Regions from separate parts of the Homo sapiens genome. Here regions 2, 3, 4 and 5 are each linked to region 1. Evidence: promoter capture Hi-C in 16 types of primary human blood cells and fetal thymus (Javierre and others, 2016). All regions are on one chromosome and are shown on one strand. Each heading gives the region's core, a stretch centred on a gene start or on the middle of the fragment in contact. The rest is flanking DNA. Distances are from core to core; before and after follow the strand shown. Region 1 holds the start of SLC1A2-AS1 (SLC1A2 antisense RNA 1). Region 2 overlaps PDHX (pyruvate dehydrogenase complex component X). Region 3 overlaps PDHX (pyruvate dehydrogenase complex component X). Region 4 overlaps LOC105376626 (a long non-coding RNA gene). Region 5 overlaps PDHX (pyruvate dehydrogenase complex component X).

What was found. The method cuts DNA at HindIII sites, captures the fragments that hold promoters and counts their contacts. A CHiCAGO score of 5 or more calls a contact.
Region 2: a fragment that was not itself captured here is called in contact with the fragment with the promoter of SLC1A2-AS1 in region 1 in 5 of 17 cell types (activated CD4 T cells, naive CD4 T cells, total CD8 T cells and 2 more); the score reaches 8.1 in activated CD4 T cells.
Region 3: a fragment that was not itself captured here is called in contact with the fragment with the promoter of SLC1A2-AS1 in region 1 in 9 of 17 cell types (M2 macrophages, total CD4 T cells, total CD8 T cells and 6 more); the score reaches 8.6 in M2 macrophages.
Region 4: a contact is called between a fragment that was not itself captured here and the fragment with the promoter of SLC1A2-AS1 in region 1, in 1 of 17 cell types (non-activated CD4 T cells). The highest score is 5.2, in non-activated CD4 T cells.
Region 5: a contact is called between a fragment that was not itself captured here and the fragment with the promoter of SLC1A2-AS1 in region 1, in 1 of 17 cell types (activated CD4 T cells). The highest score is 5.5, in activated CD4 T cells.

What each region holds. Positions count from the first base shown.
Region 1 is chr11:35,280,179-35,283,432 of GRCh38, forward strand. SLC1A2-AS1 (SLC1A2 antisense RNA 1) reads left to right here and starts at 1,634. Exons shown (of 2, transcript XR_001748185.2): 1 at 1,634-1,737. SLC1A2 (solute carrier family 1 member 2) reads right to left here. Exons shown (of 11, transcript NM_004171.4): 9 at 689-823. The HindIII fragment of the contact is 1,231 bases long and covers 1,035-2,265 here.
Region 2 is chr11:34,960,006-34,963,334 of GRCh38, forward strand. It overlaps PDHX (pyruvate dehydrogenase complex component X), which reads left to right. Exons shown (of 11, transcript NM_003477.3): 5 at 415-513. Among named protein-coding and RNA genes, the nearest start is that of MIR1343, 20 kb to the left of the region's middle. The HindIII fragment of the contact is 860 bases long and covers 1,629-2,488 here.
Region 3 is chr11:34,993,564-34,996,781 of GRCh38, forward strand. PDHX (pyruvate dehydrogenase complex component X) reads left to right here. Exons shown (of 11, transcript NM_003477.3): 11 at 1,351-2,565. The coding sequence ends at 1,609. Among named protein-coding and RNA genes, the nearest start is that of MIR1343, 53 kb to the left of the region's middle. The HindIII fragment of the contact is 5,121 bases long and covers 1-3,218 here.
Region 4 is chr11:35,017,842-35,021,018 of GRCh38, forward strand. LOC105376626 (a long non-coding RNA gene) reads right to left here. Exons shown (of 4, transcript XR_001748180.2): 4 at 1-329. Among named protein-coding and RNA genes, the nearest start is that of MIR1343, 78 kb to the left of the region's middle. The HindIII fragment of the contact is 3,480 bases long and covers 1-3,177 here.
Region 5 is chr11:34,976,856-34,979,961 of GRCh38, forward strand. PDHX (pyruvate dehydrogenase complex component X) reads left to right here. Exons shown (of 11, transcript NM_003477.3): 8 at 1,269-1,327. Among named protein-coding and RNA genes, the nearest start is that of MIR1343, 37 kb to the left of the region's middle. The HindIII fragment of the contact is 427 bases long and covers 1,147-1,573 here.

The DNA.
Region 1 (3,254 bases), core at 384-2,883:
TTAGGCAGAGTCGCACTCTGTCCCCTAGGCTAGAGGGCAGTGGCACAGTCTCAGCTCACTGCGACCTCCGCCTCCCGAGTTTAAGCAATTCTCCTGCCTCCGCCTCTTGAGTAGTTGGGATTATAGGCACATGCCACCACGCCCAGCTAATTTTTTGTATTTTTAGTAGAGATGGGGTCTCACCATGTTGGCCAGGCTGGTCTTGAACTCCTAACCTCAGATGATCCACCTGCCTCGGCCTCCACAAGTGCTGGGATTACAGGCATGAGCCACCGCACCCAGCCCCAACTGATCTCTTTCTATTGATATGTGGTACATCGTCTTTTCTTAGAGCTTCATATAAATGGAATCATACAGTACATACTCCTTTGTTTCTGGCTCTATTCATTCAATATAATGTTCTGAGATTCTTTGAATGCATCAGTAGCTGGTTCCTTATTACTGTACTTTTAACCTTGTGTCATAATCTCTCTGATTCCTCCACTAGACTGTGACGCCTTCAAATATTTCATCTTTTTCTTCTTTGGTTCTCAAATAGGTCCTCAGTAAATGTGAGCGGGAAGGAGGAAGGAAGAGTGAGGGAGTTGCCATGGGGATTAGCTAAGATCTTGGTTGCAACCTTGCCACCTGTGCATCCCTAGGAGGCAGTACTCACAGTCCCAGCAGAACCCCATCCACAGACACTTACAGCAGCCAGTCCACAGCCACCAGCAGGCTGATGTCCTCTGTTGGCAGGCCCACGGCTGTCAGAATGAGGAGCATGGTGACCAGCCCGGCACTGGGGATACTGGCCGCGCCGACGCTTGCCAGGGTGGCTGTGAGGCTATGAGAACAGAGAAGTTCAGGTCATGGAAATGGAAAGAATCTTAGCAAAACCAACCCTGGCAATTTTAAGCTCTAATTTTCCTGCAGCCATAAAATTCATCCCCCAACCCCCACCCCATACTCTCCACCAAGGAATAGAGAAATCTAAAGTACTAAGACCAAGGAATTAAGGATTAAGGCCTATTTGGGTACTGCTCAACTATGATGTAAGCTTATAAATTCATGGACTGGAGCCTTATTCCCATGATGCTATCCGGTTAGTCTAATATATCACAGGGCTCAAATAAGGCAAGCGTGGCTCTAAAAGCAGGCAAGGAAATATTAAAGATAAAAACAAATCACCCTTAATCCTCCCATGGGAACACAACTGCATTCATTTCTGCTTACGCTTTTATGTCTCTGTGAGCACCAGAGGCTTTTGGACTATGTGGCAAGGGTCTAAGAAGGCCATTGCCAAGGTTAACATGAGAACTCAGAATAGCAAATATCCAGACCCAACTGAGTTGGACATCAGGGAAACAAATCAACAGATTCCAAATGACACTAAGCGTCAGGCGCCTGGATGCCTCACCATGGGCTGGAAAATACATTATTCAGAAAGGGGATGCCAAGAAATGATAATGAAAGAAAGGAAGGCTTTCTTTCTGAAGCATCTCATCAGTTCTTTCCAAGCAATGCCAGGGCCACACCCAGCACCATTTTGAAGTTTGTCTCTGGGAGAGGGTTAATCTGGAGTTCAAGTGCCCTGTCCTGACACCAGGGAGTCTCTGTGGTCTGGCAAAGGGCAGTGACTCTTTTTCCTCTTTTCTAGATGCCATTTGTACAAAGCTGTCATATCAAAATGTCATATCAAAATATCCAAGAGTACTTTGGAAATATGGATTCCCAAGTTGTTTTTGTGGGTGCCAAAAGGTAAGGGGGACTGCTTTCTTTGTAGTTATAAAATACTAGAAATTTTATGAGCTGAGAGGCAGCCTCTCAAATTGTTTCAACTAAATCCAGGCCATCAGTTGACCAAGCACAGAATCCTGGGGTCTTATTGCTGAATATACCTAATCTTACGTTTGGAAGATTAAGGCCCCTGGAGAGCCTGTGGTTTGAGCTGTTTTTTCCCCTATTGCCATCATTCCCAGGTTTAGGCCCATCCTTGCATAGACACTTGCCCTGGGTGTGATCTACAGACCCCCCAACCACACCCTTCCCCTCCCCGTCCATGGTGTCAAGGCTCAGAGCACTCCAATTTCCTTGAATCCATCTGGGTCACAGGAGGTACAGTGTGGAGTGCTCAGCCGTGAAAGTTCTGCAGTTGAACAACCTGAGTTCAAATTCCAGCTCTGCCACTTAACCACATGACTACAGGCAACTTAACCTCCCTGTGCCTTGACTTCCTCATCTGTAAAAAGGAGATAGTAATGGTATCTCTCTCATGGGGTGGTCAGAAGCTTTCAGGAGCTAATAAATTAAAATGCACTTACAAGAGGCTGGGCACATTGCAACTCCCCCACCCCCACCATGCCCAGTGAATGTGAATTGTTTTTCTTATCAAGAAATCTGGACAGGACCAGGCTGCTTTGCAATGAAAACTTCCCTAAAGCCCTGAAAGCTGGAAGATGGGAATTCTCAACTGTTTCCCAAACAGACAGAACACCAGGGAAGGGGAACTCCCCAAGTTCCAACAGTCTTGACCTTGACTGTTTTATACACAGCATCAGTTGCTCTGAGTCACTCTTGCACATCCCTTTGCACTGTGGTTAACATTAACATTATCTGGTTATCCTTTGGTTGTGTGAGACAAAGTCTTAGAAAGATAATTCTTCCTGGAAGTTGCTTTCCCCTCTTGTCCCTAATAATACCCTCACCCTCCGGTAGGCACTGTCTCTGTGTGTGGAATTCTAAGCCCTGCAAGAGCTTCTTGGGCAGTGATTTTCCCTGCATCCCTCATTGCCTTCTGCTTTGCCTGGCCTTCCACTCCCCTGGCTCACTTCTCTAGGGTTCCTGGAAGCTGTTAAGATACTAGACACACAATATCAGAGCAGAACCTCACAGTAACCCTGCAAGGGACATATATGGTAACACCTGCTTTCACCGTGAGGAAAACACAGATAGGATGGGTGGAGAAACTTAGGTCACACAGCTTGAACATGGTCTGCTGGGATTTGAACACTGGTCTGCTTGATTTCAATGCCACACTTGTCCTTGATGGCCTTGATCCCTCCCTACACTGAAAATTCTATGAATTAATAAAAATGCTAAGAATTTCTAATCACTATTTTCCTACATGCAGTGAAAGGAGAGAAATGAAAATTTTACTTGGAAGCGCAGCCTGAAGATAGATTTGGCTATTTTCCTCCAAACAAACTGCAGGCATGAAGTATATACACCCGTGGTGGGTGCCCCAGAGGTAGCCCTTGTGGTGTCTACAATTTAGG
Region 2 (3,329 bases), core at 809-3,308, 320 kb before region 1:
TGCCACTCAGTTGTACACCTAAAAATGCTTAAAATGATAAATTTTAGGTATCATTTGCCACAATACAAAATATATGAAGAAATGATAGAACAAAATATACGAAGGAAACAATTGGTAGTTGTGATGAGCACCCATGTGAAAGTAATTAGTTGAAATAGCAGCTCTTTCCCCTAATTAATATTTATTCTTATTAAAATCATATTTAGAAATAGTAACTAAATTTTTACGAAAGTGTTTAAAGAATAAAATAAACCAAATTGGTACAGATTATTTGACTGTGACCATCTGTGGGAGTCATTTTAGCTTTATTATAAGATTTTTTTTTAATTATTTGCGAAACTGTTGACATTTAGATCTATTTGAATCAAATGTAAGTGTTAATTGGTTCTATTAACCTTCATATTTTTTTCTTAGGTTCCGTTTAAGTCCAGCTGCCCGCAATATTCTGGAAAAACACTCACTGGATGCTAGCCAGGGCACAGCCACTGGCCCTCGGGGGATATTCACTAAAGAGTATGTGTTTGCTTTTTGTAATAACCAGTTCCATTATTTATTATGATCATGTTTTTTTGAAAGAAAATAAAAAGAGCTTATTCAGTCTTAAGATTTAAAAGGAGGTACACTGTTCTTCTTTTGTACTTTTAATTGCTTTTATCATTGTAAATTGTATTCTATGCAAGAGTTGTTTTCTGAATAATTATAGCATTACTGAAGAACAGCTCTAATTTGGTAACTAAGCAAGATCCTTAGAAGTGGTAATAAATGCAGAAAATTAGAGCGTAGAACAGTGAAACTTTATACAGTATTAAATATGTGAAATCATGCAATAACATTTACATTTCTAAAACAAGGAAATATATTTTTAAAAAATTATTTTCATTATCCCTTTGAATTTTATTCACTTGTGCTGTTATAAAGCAATTTCCATATACAGTTTGGTCTCTTTTTAGATTTTCTTTTCTATTTCACTGATCCATCTGTCCATGAGTTAGTACCATACTTTTTTAGTACCACACTTTTAATTAGAAATGTTTTATTGTATGCTTTAAAATCTGATAACAATAGCTTTGCTCTTTTTTTAAATCAGTTTTCTTAGTTCATTCTTATTTTATTATTCTTCCAAATGAATTTTAAGCAGTTCGTCTAGCTCCATGGGTAGGAGTGAGGGGTATTTTTATGGGATTGTATCACATTTTAAATTAACTTTGTGAGAACTGACATCTTTATCATGATGGGTCTTTCTGTTCTGCAACACTGGTTTAAATGTTTGTGTCTTTCCATTAGTTTAAATGTTTGTGTCTTTCAAAACAGATGGCCCCTGTTCTGTTGAAACTTAGTCTAGTAGGGTAGACAAAGATTAATCAAATAGGCTTATGAACTAATGTAAGATTTCAGTAGTGTTATGTGCTACATTTTTATTGGCAGTAATAGTAAATGTTTCAAATTGAGTTTATGTTTTAAAGCAATGTACTCATTCCATATTTATCTAATATTGATAGGAAATAAAAAATAATATTGGCCAGAATTTTTGTAAGTCGAGAGAGAGCAATGGTTGTTAAATTATAAGTGGCAGTGTTGGGCCAGGCAATGTTTTCTTTTTTCCACTGGGTTATTTTACTCTTCATGAAAGCTTTGGCTTACTGTTGGGTGTTTATTTTATTGAAAGCAGTATATAGATTTAATTCTTAGATATCCTCATTTATGTGTATTACACTCTTACTAATTTGTTAACTGAATGTATGTGGTTCTATCACACACATACTGTGAAGTTCGTGCCACACTGCATGAGTTGGAAATCAGCTGTCCTGAGAGCTGACTGAAAGGCAACATCCCAGACCATGGGATTTTTAGTTAAAGGATTTAAAAGTTACACTTAGCTGTAAAAAATTAAAATTAAGAACCTTGGTTGCCAGTTAATCCCAGTTTTTTCCCCACACCAATCCTGATTTGTGTCTACTGTTGGTATCTTAATCTTGTTAGTCTCTACCAGTCTGTGCCTTAGTAGCACTCTCTGTAAAAATGGGAGAAAGCAACTATTTTTATAACAAAGTAGATTTGCCTTGCTCATAATTCTGAGGATTAGGAATAAGAGTCTGTATTTAATTCATTAATCTTTGAGGATTTGGTGAAATGTAAAATAATGATTGCTGCACCTTAGGGGGATCAGTTCTGCAAATTTGTGTAAGATAAACTGGAGCAGAAAAAGATGAGATAAGGAGATAAATTAATAGGCTCCTAAAGTAATCCATGTAAGAGGTAATGAATACTTGAATGTGGTTAGAAGAACTAAAAGGGAGATCCCTGATACAGACAACATTGTAAGGATAAAGTCCAGAAGCCTTTGCAGATTAAATGTGGAGTGTAGGCCAGAGTAGCAACAAGTAAGGGAATGAATTTGGATCTGGTCTAGGTGATGATAGTTTGGTCTCCATAAATAGAAATAATGGATTTGGGAAGCATTTGTTTTGGTGGAGTTAGTAATGTTTGAAGCTTATTGTCAGGACTTAGAAGCCATGTAGGTATTGGGATCAATGAGATGAAGATGTATCTCAGGAGATAGTTGGGGATTAGAGAGGTAGATTTGGTAGATAATAAAGCAATAGTTATAATTGAGATCATCAATAGGGAAACTAGAGGTTAAAATCCTTGAGTTGGAGGATACCTGGGAAATGTGGGAAAAGTCAAGGATGGTAGGATCTAAGAAAAGCCTCTTAAATTTGGTAATATGGTGTTCAGTAGTGTGACAGCAGTAAAATAAAGAAATAAAGGTTTCTTCCTTCCTTTTCTTTCCATGTGTGCTTAATACATATATGATGCGCAAATATCTTTTTTTAAACCTGAGTTGAAAGTTATAATATTAATGAAACATTTCTTAAGAACAAAATGGTATTATCTCCTGAATACCATAAGGAAGCAGTATTAAAGAGTTAGGCTTTTAGTATTATTGCCATCTTTTCTACCCTGTTACCCTTTTCTCTTCCCTGCCTTTATTCCTTAACTCTCCACGAGAAAGGCATCAGCCTTTGGTCTTCAAAATAAGAACTAGTACAAAAGATTTCATGAGAAAAATGGATCCTGAAAGCATATATTATTGAGGATTTTTGCTTTTCTATACTGCTAAAAATGCCTGCATTTTAAGTTTATCATTAAGGTGAGCTTTGGAAAAAATTTTAGCCTAATGTCGTCTTCTGCTATGGTTGAAAAATTGCAGGCTTTGGCATAGCTGTCCCCAAAATATCTTAGCACACTTTTTTATTTTTTAACGTTTTGAATTTTTTTTTCTTTAAGAGAGAGACAGGCTCTCACTCTGTCACCCAGGTTGGGGTGCT
Region 3 (3,218 bases), core at 644-3,143, 290 kb before region 1:
TAGCATTGAAAAGGTGATTATATATGTGTTGGTCTAGTTCTGTGCTATTTTTTTTCCACTGGCCTGTTTGTCTATCCTTTGTTTACTACCACCAAGCTATAACTCTTGATAGCTGGTAATGAAGTCTTCCAATTTTGTTCACCCTCAAGATTGTCTTCTGGCTTTTCGTATTTCCAAATAAATTGTAAAATTGATTTGCCATTTTTCACACACACACCCCTTGCTGGTTTCTTGATTGGGATTGCATTAAGTCTTTTGATGATTTGAGAATTGACATCCTTACAGTATTGAGTATTCTAACCTGTGAATATGGTAGAAACCATTGTGTATTCAGTTATTTGATTTCTTTCAGTTATGTTTTATAATTTTCTGTGTAGAGGTCTTGTATATGTTTCATTAGATTTATTCTTTGGTATTTGTTTTTTGATACTATTATAAATGGTATTGTTTTAAATTTTTATTTTCTAATTATAGCAACTTGTATGTAGAGTCATGTGCCACTTTATGATGGGGATATGAGAAATGCATTGTTAGGCAGTTTCATCATGCAAACATCATAGAGTGTACTTACGCAAATCATGCAAACATCATAGAGTGTACTTACACAAACCTAAATGGTACATGCTGCTACACACCTTAGCTGTATGATATAGCCAGTTGCTCCTAGACTGCAAACCTATACAGCATGTTACTCTACTGAATACCGTAAGCAGTTGTGACACAATGATGAGTATTTGGGTATCTAAACATATCTAAGCATTTTTAAAATGTACAGTAAAAATGTAAAAAGTAAAACATGGTACACCTGTTTAGGGCACTTACCGTGAATGGAGCTTGCAAGACTAGAAGTTGCTCTGGAAGAATCAGTGAATGAGTGAATGCTTAGGACATCACTATACACTACTGTAGACTTTATAAACACTGCACACTTAGGCTACACTAAATTTATTTTTAAAATAAAGTAATTGCAATATGATGTTATGACAGCTATGATGCCACTAGGCAGCAGAAATTCCTGAGCTCCATTATAATCTTATAAGACCACCGTTGTATATGTGATCCTTCGTTATGTGGGACATGACTCGATATAAAATGGATTGTTATATTGACCTTTTATCTGATGACTTAACTAAATTTACTTATTAATTTTACTAGTTATCTATAGTCTCATTTTTCCTGTGTACACAATTAATTTATTTGTAAATACTAAATGTTTCCTTTTTTCATTACTCATATATTTTTTTCTTGCCTTACTACACTGCCTAGTAAAATATATAAAATATGTGCTTCACGGAAAGGGGACTTTGATTAAGGACATGCCTCCTTCAGAGCTTTTTCTTTTCCCCCTAGTATTTCCAACTTGGGGATGTTTGGCATCGACGAATTTACTGCAGTGATTAACCCTCCTCAGGCCTGCATTTTGGCGGTTGGGAGGTTCCGACCTGTGCTGAAGCTCACTGAGGATGAAGAGGGAAATGCCAAACTGCAGCAGCGCCAGCTCATAACAGTCACAATGTCAAGTGACAGTCGAGTGGTTGATGACGAACTGGCAACCAGGTTTCTTAAAAGTTTTAAAGCAAACCTAGAGAATCCTATCCGACTTGCCTAGTCCTCAAAGATAAGAAGTTGGTGTTCAGCTTAGTTGATTCAGTAGTTGTTACCAAGAAACATATGTTATAGGAAAACAACTTGGTATTTAAGTATGAAGTGGATGAAATGTTTATTTATTTAAGGTGAAAGCATTTGACCCAGGGTGTCTTCATCTTCAATTTGGGTTTAATGTTATAGAAATAAATGATGATAAACTCTAACTAATAAAGGAAAGAGAATATTTGGTTACTCAGATCCATTTTTAACCTCTGGTGCTGTATAAAGGGAATATTAAACTAGATGTAAATCAAAGTATATGTTTGGCTCATTTGAGCATTTTGGAATATTTGAGAATGTATGATACATGTAAAATTAAAAAAACTATTAGAACTGTACCATAATTATGTTGAAGGTAGAAGTGATCTTCAAAGAGATGGCCATTAACTTAGCAGTGGGACCTCACTTTTACAAGCACTGCTCTAGATATACTTGAAGAATTTAATAGGTACAGAAGTTTATTCTGGATAATAAATAAATAAGGATCACACTGTATTAGGGGTTATGGCAACATTATTGAATTTTTTATGTACATAAAGCCATATGTTTAGGGTGGTTTCTATCTGTCTTGTTTTTCACTTATATAACACTGTGAACTTCTAAAGCAAGAGGATAAAAGAAGCATGAATGAAAAGAATGACATTTCAAAAAAATGGTTCAATGAAAAACTATAGCTAAAATATGTAAACCTTTCTAGGTAAACCGCTTGCCTTCATCTTGAGTCGGAATATATTTAAATAAATTGTGTTATCTCTTGCCAAACATTTTGTTAGTGTTTATTTAAAAACAAAATGTTGTTTCTTAATGCATTTAAATCAGTTTTGTATTGTGCAGTAAAATGTGAGAAAATATAAACATTTCTATTGTATTTTAAATGTTAAAACACAAAAGTTCAATAAACCTTGAAGTTGATTAGTAGTTTTTCTAGAACACCTTTAAAAGGGCTCTACAGGAGAAAAGACGGAATTTAAAATTAGTATGACATTAGGAAAGTAACTGATAGGAAATGTAAAACTTTGGAAAGAGAATAGAAGACTTATGAAGCCAAACAGATGAGAACTATCCTTTTTATTTCACTAATATGAAATTTTCACTAATTATTATAAAGTTTAGAAGAGTTTGTTTCTCTCTTTTGGCAGCTCTGCTATAACTGTCAAGATAACTATATTTAAGTTGGATGGTAATGAATGGTAATTTAATTAACTTGTCACAAAAAGGTTTATGTTAGTGTCAGCTGACATGAATCAATAGAAGAAAGGCTAATATAGTACAAGTTGTATGGTATGACATGATGAATTATAAACCCTAACAGAAGAGCCTTCTAAAATAATTAGCACCCTGGTGTATTAATTGTTAAGAAAATGCTTAATCCAACTATCCAACTCAGTTTAACAAGCCATTTAAAAAAAATAGTCTTCAAAACTTTTGTCATATTAACAGTTACACTGAAAATTATAACCAAAGGCTATTTTCAAAATAATTTTTATGTTACATTATTTCCAAGGTCAGTTTTAATCGAAATTATTATTATTATTACTACTTTTTCTTGAGATGGGGTCTTGCTCTGTGGC
Region 4 (3,177 bases), core at 445-2,944, 260 kb before region 1:
CTACGTCCCATCACTGTACTGGAAGACTCATGAAGTCCGGACAAAGTGTGATACAGCCTGGTGTATGATGCTCAGTAGTGTGAATGAGATGTGTGATACAACCTGGTGTATGATGCTGAGTAGTGTGTAATGAGAGCCATGACCCAGCTCTTCCAGGACACCGTCGAGCAGACATTTGTGGGATGGTCGAAAGTCACTCAAAGAAGAGATGTCAGTAGTCACCTGGTTCAGCAGGCTCACTGGCTCCTCATCAGAATTGCCTGGGGAGTCTTTTCAAATGCACATTTCTGGTTCCCACTCTCAGAATGCTGGGTTCAGGGTTCAAAGCTCTGCAAGTGATTCACATGGACTGGTTTGTTTGTGATCTACCTTGGGAAAACTCCTTTTACAAATGAACTGAATCAACGGAATAGTTTCTTTTTCCTATTTACATTATGCCTGGTATGCTTTGCGAGTGTTGGGCCTTTGCAAGTGTCTCTTTTCAGAAATGCCATGTTTATTCCATTGCCTTTGCCCAAAACTCTGCTGGGACTCCCCCACTTTTCTTAACAGTGTTCAGAAATGGAATTCTTTTAACTGTCTTCAAAAACAGAGTGACAGCATGCTTTTGAGAGGAGAAGGAATGCTAAAATAATTTGTTATATATTTTTGAAATATTTGTCAAATGAGAAAGATTTTGTTATATTAGTGTAATGACAAAAACTATCGTATTAAAATATTTTCAAAAATAATTTCTAATAAGCCAAATTATATATCCTTGTACATTAATGTAATAAAATTTAAACGCCTATATATTGGCTATATGACCATTAAAATAATATAATCAGAAATTATTCTTGTTTTGTAATCACTTTCTTAGTTATTTTTTTCTTTAAAAAATTTTACTACTTATAAAATGTAATATGTGTAATTGTGATACGTAAGTAACAAAATAAACCTACAGAAATGTTATTTTTAGTGTCTGAATTTTATACAATACAAAAAGTAGAAGTACTTTATTAATGTGGTATCTTGATTGATCATAAAATTTTTCTCGCTTGCATTTCTGCAAATTCATTTATTAGGTCATAACTTTAGCACTTTTTTATGCTTTAATATTTTTTAGCAGATTTTTAAAAGAGCAGTTTTAGGTTCACAGAAAAATTGAGTGGAAGGTAGAGATTTCCCGTATCCCCCCTGCTCCTACATATGGCATTGTCTCCGCCATTGGCACCATCCCCCACCAGAATGATGGATTTGTTGCAACTGATCAAAATAATTTACATATCATTATCCCCAAAGTCCATAGTTTGCATTAGGATTCACCCTTGGTGTTATACATTCTATGGATTTGGACAAATGTATAATAACGTGTATACACTATGACATGTATCTACGCATACAGAGTAGTTTCACTGTCCTAAAAATCTTTTTTTCTTCACCTATTCATTCTGAGCCATTTTTAGCTCTAGTACTGAGTCATTAATATTTTTCTGAAGATTCTATTTTTTAGTATGTTTTAATGTTTTGTGGTTTTTTAAAAAATAAAGTTCCTGAGATCTTCAAAGTTATAATCTATAACTAATAAATTTAAAATTATTGATATATCAATTGACTCTTCTTTGTAGCAAAAAGTATGTTTTTCAATTGAGAAAATATCCAGTTTTACAGATGCTGAGGTAACTGGTAAGATCAGGGCAGTTTATGCTGGATGGAGAATATTCTCAATTCTGTATTTGGTATTGATAAAACTAAATATTTCGCAGATACTGTTCCACTTAGAGTAACTGTTTTGACAATTTTTTAAATGTTTTTGGGTACATAGTTGGTATATATATTTACAGGGTACATCAGATACTTTGATACAGGCATGCAATGTGAAATAAGCGTGTACATCATGGAGAATGATCCCCTCAATCCATCCCCTCAATCCAATTCAATTTTATAGACAATCCAGTTACACTCTTTAAGTTATTTTAAAGTGTACAATTAAGTTATTATTGACTAGTGTCATTCTATTGTGCTCTCAAACAGTAGGTCTTGTTCATTCTTTGTTTTTTTGTACACATTAACTATCCTCGCCTCCCCCACAAATATTTTTAAAAACAAAATTTAGCAAAAAGGTTGTCTCTGTTTTAAGTGCTTTATCAAATTTAGATGCTGAAAAATGGTAGGTTTTCTGAATTTTACTTTATTCCAGCACAGAGTACTAATTTATCTAATTAATTAACAATAGAAGCCCATCAAAATATTCTTCCTAGATGTCAAGATACTTGAAGCTCAATGACTAATTTTCCTAATAAAATCTCATATACTATTTGATCACTATTTTATGTGTTTAGAAACACTTTGATTTAATATGAATACTTTTTTTTTTTTTTTTTTAGATGGAGTCTGGCTCTGTCGCCCAGGCTGCAATGCAGTGGTATGATCTAGGCTCACTGCAACCTCCACCTCCTGGGTTCAAGTGATTCTCCTGCCTCAGCCTCCCAAGTAGCTGGGACTACAGGCACCCACCACCATGCCTGGCTGATTTTTGTATTTTTAGTAGAGACGAGGTTTCACCATGTTGACTGGGCTGGTCTCAAACTCCCAACCTCAGATGATCTGCCTGCCTCAGCCTCGCAAATAAGAATATATTTCAGTGTCTTCTTGTTTACTAGCTTTGTTTCTATTAATGGCAGTTCTCCAAAATCTTCAAGAGCTACACTTTGGGAACTTTCCATTTATTGTATACTTTAATTAAAGGTTTCCAACTGATTTTAAATTAAATTGAATTTAGAGTTCTCATTTTAAAATAAGTAAATAAATAAAAGTTCAGTACATTATAGGACACTTAGGTTGATTTCCAAAACAATTCAAAGGTTTAAAAATTTCTAATATCTGATTGATTATGGGCAGTGAAGAGGTAAATCTCATATGATTATGTCAAGATTTTTTTCTAATTCAACATTAGCCTTGTGGAAAAAAATTGATAGTTTAGTTGTTGTGTGTGTGTAAATTTTGACAAACAGAGCTTCTGTTTTTATTAGTAGAATGTTGTAGCTTGTTTGTACAAAATGATGGCTTACATCTTTTTTTAACCAACTATAAGTACAATTTTATAGCTCAATGAACCTATCGCTTTTGTTAGATGGGAGCAAGCAATGGGAAATGTCTACCATTTGGCTTTAAAAGTCTATAAGCAACAGTTACCTA
Region 5 (3,106 bases), core at 110-2,609, 300 kb before region 1:
GGGTAAGTAGATAAAGTGAAGAGAAAGCTGAGAGAGCCATGAAAGGTAAGCAGAGTAAGTTCATGAACTGTTACATTTGAATTTGTACAAACCAAATCTTTCTATGTGGTTATCATTAAAAGCTTGTAAGCACTGTAAGTCCATTTATATTTCTATTCCTAAAGGGGTTTTAAGCAAAAATGTTTATATATTTCTGGAATTCTGAATTAGAGGAGCTTTGATACTTTGCAGCTGACAGTTATCGTGACAGTTTGACAGTATTTAGGTTTATGGTAATTCATCTAATCCCTTTCTGTAGTCTCCAGGATGCCTTTGGAATGAGCTGTTATTCACCTAAAATTCCGTGATACTTTAGTAATAGGATAGGTTTTTTGCCACATACCACTGACTAGATCTAGATCTTAGAGTCTTTTTCTATAAGCTCTTGCAAGAAAGAATCAAGTGTTGTTTACATTTTCTAACACTGTTATACCCAGTGGCAAATGCAAAGACATAAACAAATACTTTAGTTATGATCAGCTCGTAGGAAGTGGGAGGACCCCAGCTTTATCTTAAAATCATTATGTATACTGGAAAGAAATTGATTCAAATGCATTCACCATAAAACTATGGATGGAGAACCTCATTTTATTAATCACACTAGGACCTATGCCAGCATTGCTTCATCTTTGGCTTTTGTTATATCCTGTTTTGTTAAGTTAAAAAGCAGTTAAATTTTTTTTCACCTACACCCCATTAGTAAAAAGAAATTTTCGAACACTTTCCCATATGTGTATATATAACTGTTTATATATAAAGTACCTACATGTATCACTGTTCTAGTATAATCAGTATGTTATAAAGCATACAGAGAATAAGGGTATTTGAAAAGAACGAGGAAGAAAATGAATCATCTTGTAAACTTCCTGACTGCACACACCACAGAGAGATCATTTGTCTTTTTCGAGACATAGGAGTTAGTTCTTTTTTTCTGATTATGCTTGTAATGGGTCCTTCAGGTTCTTGTGTATGATATCTAAGCAATTTAAAAAATTGATAACCAAGGCCCAGAAGTAAACTTACATTCATGGTTAATATTATTGATCCAGGACCTCATATAATGCAAGTTTTTCTAATCATGGGAACCTTATTGACTAAGCAAACAAAAGCTTGTAATTTTTTATCATTGTTTGTCAGTACATTCCATAATTTACAAGTTTGAAGTTGTAATGGTCAATGTTAAAGTTATATTAGGAATACTAATTTTACTAACCTTATTTTTCTTTCAGATGACATTAAAGTATCAGTAAATGATTTTATCATCAAGGCAGCAGCTGTTACCCTTAAAGTAAGTAGCAGACTTCAAATGATTTTGTCTTCTTAAGTAGTTTCATGTCGTGGAATTTTTACAATGACAAATAGAACTCTTATTTTTAAATCACAAAAATTTTATAATTGTCTTGCTAAAAATATCCTATCGTTTGATCTCCCTCATTTTACAAATGAAGAAACTGTAAATCAAAAGGGCTCACAATGAATTAGAGCAGGATGAAAACCATTTATTCTAGGCATTAGAGATAGAGCAGTAAACAAAAGCTTACTTGATTTCTGCTGTCCCTGGGGCTTACATTCTAGTTGGAGGAGACAAACACTATTATATGTCAGATGGTGAAAGTGCTGAGGAGAAAAAGAAAGGATAAGGGGACAAAGTAACTAGGGGTGATTTTTCAAAAGGGAAGCGAGGGAAGCCCCTCTGACAAGGCGATAATTTAGATACGGCCTGAGAAAACAGAGGGAGTGAGCCACATAGGTATGTGGTAAAAGTGCATTCCACACAGAGGGACCAGCAAACACCAAGGCTGCAAGCAGAGGATCGCATTAACCAAAGATGTGGTGCTGAGGGTGGAATGTGCCTAGTATGGAGAGGTGGGAGATAAGATTTAAATAACAGTGGGAGAGCATGAAGGGGAACCCAAGTACATGAGGCCTTGTTGGACATGGTGAGGACTAGGGATTTTATTATGGGTGAGAAGGAAGCCTTTGGAGGGTTTTGAACAAATAACTAATGTGATCTGACTTATACTTCAGAAACGAAAAGGAGAGGCTGCCCTGGGTGCTGTGTAGAATGTAGCCTGTGGAGAGGCAAGGGAGGAGACGATGAGCTCCCCTGGGAGGCTTTAGAAGATCACAGTGGCTTGGACAAATGTGGTAGCAAATGGAGCTAGGGTGAAGTGGAGATTTGTGTTATGTTTCAAAAGTAGAGCCAACAGGATTTGCTGATGGATTGGATATGGGGTGTGAGAAAGAGAAACAAGCATTTTGGCCCAAGCAATGGGAGGAATGAGTTTTCCATGTACTAAGATTGGGAAAACTGGGAGGGGTATAGCTTTGGGTTAAGGAATCTAGAGTTTGGTTTTAGACATGTTACATTTGAGGAGCCTAACAGATATTCCAGTGGAGGTGGCAGGAAGGCAGGTGAACATATGAGCCTGCAGTTCAGTGGAGGTGATGTAAACCTAGCTGGCTGGAGTTGTAAATCTAGAACCCAGGCTTCCTGCCTTCCTGCCTGGCACTATTTTTCATCATGCCTCCTTTCTGTAACGAGGCTATTTTCTGGGATCACTGCTTGTTAACAGACTGTATTTAAAGTACATTTATAATTAACTTTTTATTTCTTGAAAAATACATTAATGAGGGTTCCATGGTGTAATGGTTAGCACTCTGTATTCTGAAAATTACATTAATACAGAACTTAAAAAGCATGCCCTTTCAGCAGTATCTAATTATTCATATAACTTTTCTCTTTTGATGAAATATTTTGAATTATATTAATGATTTAATTAATTGACTATTATTGTGATTGATATCATTAATTGTGAATCATTTTTGCACTCCTTAAATAAATCTCTAATGGGCATAAGCTATTCGTTAATATTTCATTGGATAATGTTTGTATCCAGAGTCATAAGTAGTGGTAATTTAAATTTTGTGCCAACATTATCAGACCTTTTTTCCCTAATCATTGGCTTCATTAAATGAATTTGGATTATTTCTTCTTTTCTTTCCTCTGTACACATTTCAATATTATAAATTTTTTTATATTTTCTAGTTTCATAGAATTCACCAG